4 separate regions of the Homo sapiens genome follow, and regions 2, 3 and 4 are each linked to region 1. Evidence: promoter capture Hi-C in 16 types of primary human blood cells and fetal thymus (Javierre and others, 2016). All regions are on one chromosome and are shown on one strand. Each heading gives the region's core, a stretch centred on a gene start or on the middle of the fragment in contact. The rest is flanking DNA. Distances are from core to core; before and after follow the strand shown.

Evidence for each region. Contacts are between HindIII fragments. The CHiCAGO score rates a contact against its expected background, and 5 or more counts as called.
Region 2: a contact is called between a fragment that was not itself captured here and the fragment with the promoter of PKHD1L1 in region 1, in 1 of 17 cell types (megakaryocytes). The highest score is 5.5, in megakaryocytes.
Region 3: a contact is called between a fragment that was not itself captured here and the fragment with the promoter of PKHD1L1 in region 1, in 1 of 17 cell types (megakaryocytes). The highest score is 19.4, in megakaryocytes.
Region 4: a contact is called between a fragment that was not itself captured here and the fragment with the promoter of PKHD1L1 in region 1, in 1 of 17 cell types (megakaryocytes). The highest score is 6.3, in megakaryocytes.

Annotation. Positions count from the first base shown.
Region 1 is chr8:109,361,188-109,363,752 of GRCh38, reverse strand. PKHD1L1 (PKHD1 like 1) reads right to left here and starts at 1,292. Exons shown (of 78, transcript NM_177531.6): 1 at 1,100-1,292. The coding sequence starts at 1,172. The HindIII fragment of the contact is 8,587 bases long and covers 1-2,397 here.
Region 2 is chr8:109,565,781-109,568,345 of GRCh38, reverse strand. It overlaps EBAG9 (estrogen receptor binding site associated antigen 9), which reads right to left. Exons shown (of 7, transcript NM_004215.5): 7 at 2,350-2,565. Among named protein-coding and RNA genes, the nearest start is that of EBAG9, 27 kb to the right of the region's middle. The HindIII fragment of the contact is 730 bases long and covers 908-1,637 here.
Region 3 is chr8:109,549,295-109,551,859 of GRCh38, reverse strand. It overlaps EBAG9 (estrogen receptor binding site associated antigen 9), which reads right to left. Exons shown (of 7, transcript NM_004215.5): 2 at 953-1,050. The coding sequence starts at 1,035. Among named protein-coding and RNA genes, the nearest start is that of EBAG9, 10 kb to the right of the region's middle. The HindIII fragment of the contact is 4,370 bases long and covers 1-2,565 here.
Region 4 is chr8:109,531,635-109,534,199 of GRCh38, reverse strand. PKHD1L1 (PKHD1 like 1) reads right to left here. Exons shown (of 78, transcript NM_177531.6): 78 at 1-2,565. Among named protein-coding and RNA genes, the nearest start is that of EBAG9UORF, 6.8 kb to the left of the region's middle. The HindIII fragment of the contact is 8,383 bases long and covers 1-2,565 here.

The sequences.
Region 1 (2,565 bases), core at 43-2,542:
AGAAAGATAAAGATAGTTCTAGATAGAGGGAACTGCCCGGGCAAACAGGATTGTGTGAGCTGCTTCTTTGGAGTATTGCAAATAATTCTTTAAAACAACTCAAAGCTACACAGTGGATAGAGGTGTTTATTTTCTGCTTACACTGTACAGATCTAGTAATTGCTGGAATCCTAAAAGAAATTTTCACAGTAGGTAGAAAAATTTAAGGGATGATACAAAGAAAGGCCACAGAAATTATTAATTTCTCAAAATGGATGTATATAAAAAGGCTAAGGGAATTATGATTGGCTTGTTCAGTTCTGTCTTAAAAAGGTTTAGAGTGGACTTCACCTATAGTAGCAAAAGCTCTCCAACATAAAGGAGACCAGTTCCGAGGCCCCAGACCCAGTGCCTCTGTACCTCGGGTCTGTCTTTGCCAAGAGCTCCAAGGTGTTCTTATTCCCGCACATTCATATCTCAGGGCAGCCCAAGAGTAGGAAACTCCAGCGGGGAAGCTGGATCCTATCTCCAGACAGTGCTGCTCCTCGCCTATCTCAGGTTCATCCTCCTGTTATCTCCACAGACAACTCCAATTTCTTATCTTATCAGTCTCTTCCCAGCCCTCTTCTGGGTATTACTTTGAAAACACAGGGCAGCTGCCCCTGGAAATGACTGACACCTGCCACGAAGTCCCATCCCCGTCCTACTGGGGGTTGTTGCCCTTTCTGTTGTGAGGAAAGCGACCCAAGAAGAATGGAGGAAAAGGGACTCAGGTTGCCTCTTCCCAGTCCCCACTCCCCCGCCAAATTTCAGTCTACTTGTGTCACTTTGTGGGTGCCGGTGGGAGATTTCATCATTCAAGTAGCAGCATTGATGAGTTAAAAGGCAATCTCTCGCAATCTCTTTCTCTGTGTCCTTGTCTCTGTTTCTCTCTCTCTGCGTCTGTCTCTGTTTGCTAGGCCTGCTATCCAGCTCCCCTGGTCCCCAGGATCGTCATGCAACCGCACCCACAGCCTCAGCCAGGTGCCAGGTGGTCCTGCCTCTCCCAGGACCCCGGGAGCAGGGGTAGTGTCTACGCGGGCCTCTCCTGCTTGCCTGCCTAGCGTGCCCAAAGGGTTACCTGTGCTGGGATCCGCGGCACACAGGAGCAGCCCACAGAGGCCCCAAATACCCAGGAGCCACAGGTGTCCCATTGAAAAGCCAGTTCTGCGGAGTTGGTGCCCTCCGCTCGCAGCTGGCTCTAGTGCTGGAGCTCGGCTCCTGGGACTGCGACTCGCTGGCGGGCCCGCTTCGTCCCGGGAGAGCTGGGGAACTGGGCCGCCCTCCCGTGGCCTGCCCCGCCCCTGCTGTCGGGCTGCTCCTCTGGGATTTGCATGCGCGCGCGGACACACACACACACACACACCCTGGAACCTTCGCGGGAGAACCAAGCCGGCCCCGAGCCAGTCCGTGATAATCAAACCTCCACACTCAAACCTGGGTGCTGCCTTCCCAAGGCTGTCCCCATAGGTGGAAGGGCCTTACTCCTTTTGGCGAAAGGAATCAATGGTCATTGAGGTCTCCCTAGGTCTCCTTCTCTATTTTCTTTTTGTTTTTTTTCTTTTCTTTTCTTTTCTCTCTTTCCCCGCGTACTTTCATCTGCCTGTCTGCCTTGGTCATTAATCCTCCCCAGGTGGGCCTATAAGACCACCTAATACACAAACCCCACGCGTGTTTACCCCTTCACATTCATATGAGATTGTGCTCTCTCTTTAATTGACAATCAGTAGACTTAGGGCGAAGGCTTACTGTTGGCATGGAGGGAGGTCCAGCACTGCTGACCTGTTTCTGGGATGCCAGATAGCAGACGAATGAAACGCAAGTTTCTCTGACCTCCCTGGAGAAGGCAGTTTATTATTCACCACTGAATGCTCCCCAGGGGCTAATTCCAAATCCTCTCACTGTTCTTAATATCTTAACCTCAGGATCTCTTGATTGCCCACCTCTCCCTACTCTTTAAAAGGTGAGAAGGGGCTGGGCACAGCGGCTCACGCCTGTAATTCCACCACTTTGGGAGGCCGAGGTGGGCGGATCGCTTGAGGTCAAGAGTTCGAGACCAGACTGGCTGACATGGTGAAACACCATCTCTACTAAAAATACAAAAATTAGCCTGGTGGGGTGGCGCATGCCTTGTAATCCTAGCTACTTGGGATGCTGAGGCAGGAGAATTGCTTGAAGCCGGGAGGCGGAGGTTGCAGTGAGCTGAGATCACACCCCTGCACTCCAACCTGGGCGACATAGTGAGACTCCGTCTCAAAAACAAACAACAAAAAAAGATGAGAAGATCCACCTACCTAGTTTGCAGTTTCTACATTTTAAAATGTTATGTGTTTTTAAAAGATATTAAAAGATTATTACCCAAATAGCAATGCATAAGCTTCTATTGGATCCTGGTTTGTAAAAAATAATAATAATAATATAAAGCTATGAAGGACGTTTGCAGAACAAATTAGGGAAAGTGAATATGGATTAAGTAACAAGTATTGAAAGATATTATAGAAGCGTTCATTTTATTAGGTATAATAGTGGTATCATACTTTAGTCAAA
Region 2 (2,565 bases), core at 23-2,522, 200 kb before region 1:
ACTGTTGATTAACCACTATTATAACCTCCTCTCTAAGGTTGCTATTTTCCATTCCATTAATCAAGTACACAATTTATTTTCTAGGCCTTGGTTTCCTTATATGTGAAATAAGGGTAGTATCTCTTACAGGATTGCTAAGAGTCACTGATATAATTAGTCAAAGACTCAGACTTACAATAAATGTTTTCTTTCTTGCTAAATTTCAAGTTCAATTTAAAGGTGTATAAAATACTGCAAGATTAGGCAACTTCTCCCACTCTTTGCAGGGAAGGGGCTGCCAATACCACTGCATGGTGAGATGTGGGAAGTATATAGGGCCTCATACCAACTTCCAATTATTGAGTGCTTATACTGAACACTTATGTACAGTCTCAATCCTTACAACCACCATTTCCATTTAAAAGATTTGCAAACTCTGGCAATTTGTTTAATGCTGTACTACCTCTACAGAAGCTCTGAGAACTCTGGGAACCTCTCAGAGCCGGGGTGATCTGATCAATGTATATAAGGAAAGCATCTACAGAAAGATCCCCTGAAAAGAAGTCCCCTGAAAGGGAAGGCTGGGATTATCTTGGACTGGCCGCAGACTTTCAGTGAGCTTCTCTGCAAAAGTTTCCACTGGTGAACTAGCAGTGTCAGCAGGAGGTATGAAAGGATAGAAACAAATCTGTTGTTGAAGGTAAAAGATGGTCAAGGAGGTCCCTAGAATAGAGTGTTTCTTTCAAGCTATAGAAGATCGAAGGTGTCTGGTGAAAAAGCATTTTACTAGCTCTCAAAACCTACTCTGGTTATTGAGTATGCCCAATGGTCATGACCAAGAGGGATGGAAGATAAAAAGCAGAAGGCAATGTAAAAAAAACAAAAAACAGTTGAGTATAAAAAGAGTACCTAGCTGTTGCTGTAAGCTTGGGATAGTTTTGGTTAAAGAAAAGTGAAAGGAATTACACAAAGAAAAAAATAAATCTCTTCGTATTGTATTAGGACAGAGCAGTTCAAATTTAAAAAAAAAACTATGCAAATGACAAAAACAAGTTTAAGTTATTAGCTACTAAATATGCTCTTCATGAACCCACTATCTTCTTCAGCCCTCCAGTTCACCTGAGAGGGTATTAGCTCCTTCCCTGGAACAATCTGTAGGCTCTAGCCCACTCCCAACCTCCCAGCAGGGATCCATTCGGAACCCTGTCATGTTTGCTTACATGCCTGAAGATTTCCTTTGAGCAAGGGGTTTAAGGAGTATGAAAACCATCGTTGGTTATTCCAAATCTGAACTTCATAGGATCAAACAAGATGAGTATGTTAGCTCTGTCTGGCTCAAACCATCCTTTAGTAAACATACCATTCTCAACAAAATTCAGGCTTTTTGGAACACTGACTATGGTTAGGTTTACGCCATGGTGGTAGCTTGTAGAGTGGTGTTGGAAGCTCGATCCAGATGCTGGTTTCTGTAGGTACCTTCTGCCCAATCACCAATCTTCATGTAGAAACAACCTAGAAATAATCACCCAGAGGCAAGTGCATGTCAAAACTGAGAAATTCGGATGCAGAATTTCAAATTTTCAGTTCTAAAATGTCAACTCAATTAAACATGCTATACTAAAAGAAGAGCCAAGTAGAGAATATCCCTAGGTAAAGCTTAAGAAGAGGAAATGGCTAGAAACCATGAAATTACTACATAAAAAACAAAACAAAACAAAAAAAAACACAAGGTAAGTTTCCCATGTCTTTGATTACTTGTTATCTCAGTACATGAAATGCACGATTTTGCTAATGGTTAAAACTTCACTAATTCTATCTATGCCTACCAGTATTTCTTATTATTTCTAATAAGCATCTAAAACTGACAATTCTTTATTGAAATCAAGAAAACAAAAAATAGAAACCATAAATTTAGTAGCTAAAAGAGACAGTATGCTACCATGAATTGTTTGTCATATGCATTTAACTCAGTGACTACTTTTGGGACCAAAATATACCCAAGTTAATACAGGAATTTAGTTTACACATCAATAGAGATAAAATAAATTCCAGAATTGTTATCTATTCTTTCCACAAGAAAAATCTATTTCTTCCTAATCATACTAACTATAATTGCTAATGTCTTTATTTTTAAATAATCAAAAACCAAAAAGCCAAACAACAACAACAAAAACCTCAAACACATGAAAATCATGACCAAACCAAACTTAAATACTTTTCAGCTACTAGGGAAAAGCAATACAAGTAATTGAGCTAAAGGAAGTTATCCTTTATGAATTCCAAATTTAGAGAAGATATGTTGTATTCCCATAATAACTAACTATAAATACAAAGAAGGAAGAGAATACATTATTAAAACTTTGAGCCCAATTCTATTTAAGTTGGGAGTTTATTAGCAGAAATTCTAATGAATATAATAACTGGAAATATAATTTGGGGCTATAAAAAGCTCTGTACCAAAGTTAACTTTCATCTTATTCTATAATCACATTTAGTCTGAAAGCTTAGGCTAAGGGCTTAAAGGGTTCTCATTGTATAACTTATGATTTTTCTATAAAATATCACTTTAAGTAAAATAAATTAGTA
Region 3 (2,565 bases), core at 39-2,538, 190 kb before region 1:
CCACAATCACTGAACTTATTAATGAAATTTGTGTGCCTGTTGAACACTGCACAGCTTCTTATGCCTTAGAATAAGACTGGAGACCATCATTCTTGTTTTCAGTTCTACATTAATTTTGGTGCAGTACTCGCTTTTAATTACAACCTAAAATCCTGGCTTTGCAATGAGATGTCACCAAAAATATAAGTAAACAAAAACTTATCTCAAACATTAAAGAACACCATCATAAAAAAATACTGCAGGATTTAATGTTGCAAATGTGAACTACTTTGAGTTGAGGTATTCAACAGATGCTATCACTATGTTTCACTGCAAAATTTAAAATATTCTATGGCATCCCTGTGAATTTCATGTAAAGCCCTGAGGTGCCTCAGCACACATTTTAGACATCATAGCTCTTGGGTATGATCGTGTGACAAAACAGAAGGAACTGAAGTCTACAGATGATGTCCTAAAGCAAATGACTTACCTGCTCTTGACTTCCTGCATATTCTAGAATGTTACTCAAACAGAAAAAAAAATTTTTTTTTTTTAGGATTTTTCTTAGGATTTTTTTTTAAATATAAAAACAACACTATTGTAGTATAGACAGAAATACCTATTCCGAATTTCACCTAACCACTTTAAAACATTCCCATAATGAAACGAATACATCAAAGTTCTGTGATGATTATAATAATGAAAGTTGGTCTGTCTATTCCTAAATAGTATTAAGCATGTTATTTTAGTGGAAAGTGTAAGAATTTGAATGAACAAAACAACTGAACCTCTATTTTCTAGATCTGAAGTAGAGAAAAAGTATCTAAAAATGACTAGGAATTAATGAATAAATACTGCAATCAAGATATTCAGCTTAAATATAACCTGTCCTGTCCACGAAATTTGAAGTTTTGAAGGTATCCAAAACCAGCGAGGAGATAAACAGGTTAGTTTGAACATAAAACTTATTTACCTGCATATTAATCTCTTTAGGAATGAGAATACTGTTGCTAGGCAGGTACAAAATTTAAATAACCGAAACTGGGTGATGGCCATGGTGGGAATCAAAACCTGTGGAAGAGGCACAAAACAAAAAATGCATTAAATTGATTTCAAAAGTCATACTCCTGTCCTGAAAAGACCTATTATGCACTAAGAAAAATCTAAGATATTTTTTACCTTTCTCTAGAAACTATAACACAGTAAATTTTAAAATTATAATTTAAATCATATTAACAAGTCAAAAACCAGGTTTTCGAGTTTTCAATGGTTGTAAGGATAAAACCCTTCATTCTGAGTTTTTGAAAATAATTTTACCTAAATCTATTAATACAAAAATCTACAATTCAAAAAATAAAAAAGTATAAAATAGAATATATTAAATCTCTGTGTACCTTTTAAAGTTTGAACCACATGAACATAATACTATTTAAAATACTTTAAATATTTTTAACTTGCAGATGAATATATTTCCTTATATCCATTTTATAGATGAGGAAATTGAATTAAGAGAGGTCAAATAACTTGACCAAAGTCACATAGCTAGTAAATTGAAAGTTACCATGGAGCTCATTTAGTCCAGTGGTTCACAAATCTGGGAATCTATTAAAGAAATGCCAATACCTAGGAGTACCTCTAGTAAGTCCATTAAATCATATATTCTGAGGGGCAAGGACTGGTCATAACCAATAAGACAAGCAGGGAGATAAAAACTACTCAATTGAAAAGGCAGCAGGAAACAAAGAAAAGAGAACAAATAACACATGGGACAAGCCAAAAACAAATAAGATGACAGACGTAAATCTAACCATATCAATAATCTCATTAAATGCAAATTGTATAGCATTCCAATTGAAAAGCAGAGATTGTTAGATTGAATAAGAAAGAAAGACCGCCCCACTCCATGTTGCCAATGAGAAATGCATTTTAAATAAAAAGACACAAATAGGTTAAAAGTAAAAGGATAGGAGAAAATATACTATGCTAGCACTAATCAAAAGAAAGGTGAAGTGACTATTTCAATGTTAGACAGATTATAGGAAAAATAACATTACCAGGTATAAAAGTGGTCATTTCACAGTGATAAAGGGGTCAATTAATAAAAAGTACATAACAATCTAAAACACGTGTCCTTAATAACAGACTTTTGCCAATATCATAAACAAGACAGATAACATTGTTAGAGTCTGCAGATATTAAAAGGATACTGAAGAACTATTACAAACACCTTTGTGCCTGTATTTACTTGACAAGTGAGATGAAATGGACAACTTCCCTGAAAGACACAAATTACTAAAGCATAAGAAGAACAACCTGAAAATCTATATATCTATTAAAGAAATTATATTTGTAGTTATAAAAATCTCCCAGACACAGATGGCTTCACTGGTAAATTCTACAAAACACTTAGGAAGGAATAATACCAATTCTATACAAACTGCCAAAAAACTGAAGAAGGAATATTTCCCCAACTCATTATTTGAGGCCAGTATTACACTGATACTAATCCAAAGATATTACTAGAAAAGAAAACTATTAATATTCTATGAATCTAGACACAAATCTCCTTAGCCAAATATTAGTAAA
Region 4 (2,565 bases), core at 31-2,530, 170 kb before region 1:
TGAGCCACTGCGCCTAGCCTCAGATTAAAGTTGAAGCATTTCCATTCGGGAGGGTATAGTAGTAACTCAAAGATGCATGTGGTATTTTAACCTTGGCATTGTCCACCTTTCCCATTAGGAAGGATTAACTCTCTGTTCTCTTGATCCTTCCAAATTTTGCCATCTCAGACATCTGATGAAAGCAGGAGATTTAGGATAACCACCAAATAACAATGAAACCCTAAAGGAGCAAGGGCTGGTATAGGGCACCACAATGTCAGGAACCCAAACTCCTTTCAGCTGAGCTCTCTGGGTTCTGGAAGAGGTATAAAAATATTCTTCACACAAGGACATTGTAAAAGCCATAAAATTGTCCACCATCTTAGTCTTTTCTTACCTAAAGTTTTAATTCAATCCACTGGAATTTTTTTTTTGTCAAGATTTTTCTGTAGATTTTTAGTAAGGAGATTTTCTAACACAAGTTATGGAGCAATAAAAGGCACTGGCCTTTATCCTCCAGGTCTCAGGAGCCATCTTGCTCCATGTAGCTGGAAAAACAGAAAGGGATGAAGAAAAGGCAAAGGGATGCATAATAGCTATGTTTTAAGGTCAGTTTCTAGAATATGCCACGAGATAATGTCTGTTTTTGTAACCCACTGCACAGAAATTGATCAGTCTCACTGCAAGTGAAGCTGGGAAATTGTCTTTGTTCTAGGTGGCCCAGTGCCCAGCCAATAATTCTAATAATTAGCACTCACATGGTGCTTATTACATGCCAGGCACTGTTCCAGTGTAATAAGAAGCCTAATGGTTTACTGGGCCAGGGATTGACATGATATAGGCCACATTATGGAAATAAAAACAAGAGTGGCTATCATTTTACCGCCTGTTAGGCACTGTGTTACATGTCATATATATGATACCATCAGTCTTCAGATGTCACACTTTCCACATTTTACAGTTGAAGAAACTGAGAATAATGGAAACTAAGAACTTGCCTGAGGGCATAGAAGTGGTAAAGTAGAAACCAAGAATTTGAACAGGAATTTGGATTAAAAACTCTTCCCAATGAAGCACTTGCCCATGCTTGAGGAAAAGTGGGAAGCAATTAAATGTTGGAATTTGGGCTCTGGAGTTAAATTGTCTGTGTTTGAATCCCAGCTTTACCATTAGTAGCTCTGTGAACTTGGGAATTTAACCTAACCCTTCAACATTTCAAGTTTCCTCATTTGGAGAAGGGAATAAGGTTATCCTCATAGGATTGCTGTAAGGAAAGGGTCCATGTAGAACACACAGCATAGTGTCTGGCATGTAGTGAACATGTGATAAACCTTTACTTTATTATTGATTATTGTTATTATTAGTGCTAGGGATATTTTAAATAGCACTTTTGGGGATAAAATGGATAAAAGGTAAAAACAGATGGACCATCTAGAAGTCATTGCAATGATCACAAGGTGATGGAATTTAGGAATGAGTAGAGACAGTAGTACAAGATATAAACATTTCACTTACTATGAGAAATACAAGAAGCTATTCTTATTAACTTTTTATTCTCTGTTTCTTACTTTGACCAAAATTGGAACAACATATTTACTTCGCCAACATTTCAGGTCTTAGGTAGAAGAATATTCACACATCAAAGGATTTTTATGACTTGTTCAAGAGCTAGATAGCCACTTCTTACAATACAAATTATTTTTAAGAATTTAAACATCAATTTCTGAGACAGAATGTTCAGAGAAATATTATTTAAATGCAAAAAAAAAGCAAAAATAAAACTTGCTTAGCATATGAATAAGGGACATGTGAAGATGTATTGCCCATGGATTCCAATAATTCAAGCATTTTTAAAAGTAGTAATTAAATTGTAATTTATCTGGAATAAGGAATTATTATGATAATTCTAGAATGTTCTTAAAAAGCAGACAGCCAGAAGCCTAAAGCAGTTAAAACAGGAACTTTTTAACAAAGTCTGTGTGGCTAAGAAGCAATTTTTAGAAATTCCTTTTACTGCCATATAACTTGTATTAGAAAATTTCCTTATTAAAAACTGACAGAAAAAATCTTGACAAAAAACTCCAGTGGGCTGAATTAAACCTTTAGGTAAGAAAAGAATACAGATGGTGGACAATTTTATGGCTTTTACAATGTTCTGGTGTGAAGAATATTTTTGTATCTCTTCCAGAACCCAAATGTAGGAATTTGTTCCATAGATGCTGGAATTGCAGTTTTTGGAATTTAGTTTTCCAACAGAAAGGAAGTATCACGGAATGAACAGTAAACTAGATTTGCCTTAGGAAGACTGATTTTTAAGTCTCAGCGTGAAATGGCCCATGTTGGGTCTCTTTCCCCCTCCCTATCCCAGGAACAGAGGTTTTTCACCCCACCAGGGTTGGAACTGAGGGGAGTATAAAAGTGCTCTGTTACCTGGTGCTGTACAATGAAGTATCAATGCTCTCTGGACATGGCAAATGTTCCTCATGAAGGGGCTTTCATGTATACTTTGAAGACTACCTTGTCAGGGACCTCTTACCTGCAATTCCCTTAAAATTGTGACTATTTCCATTCCAGCTGTTCATTTGA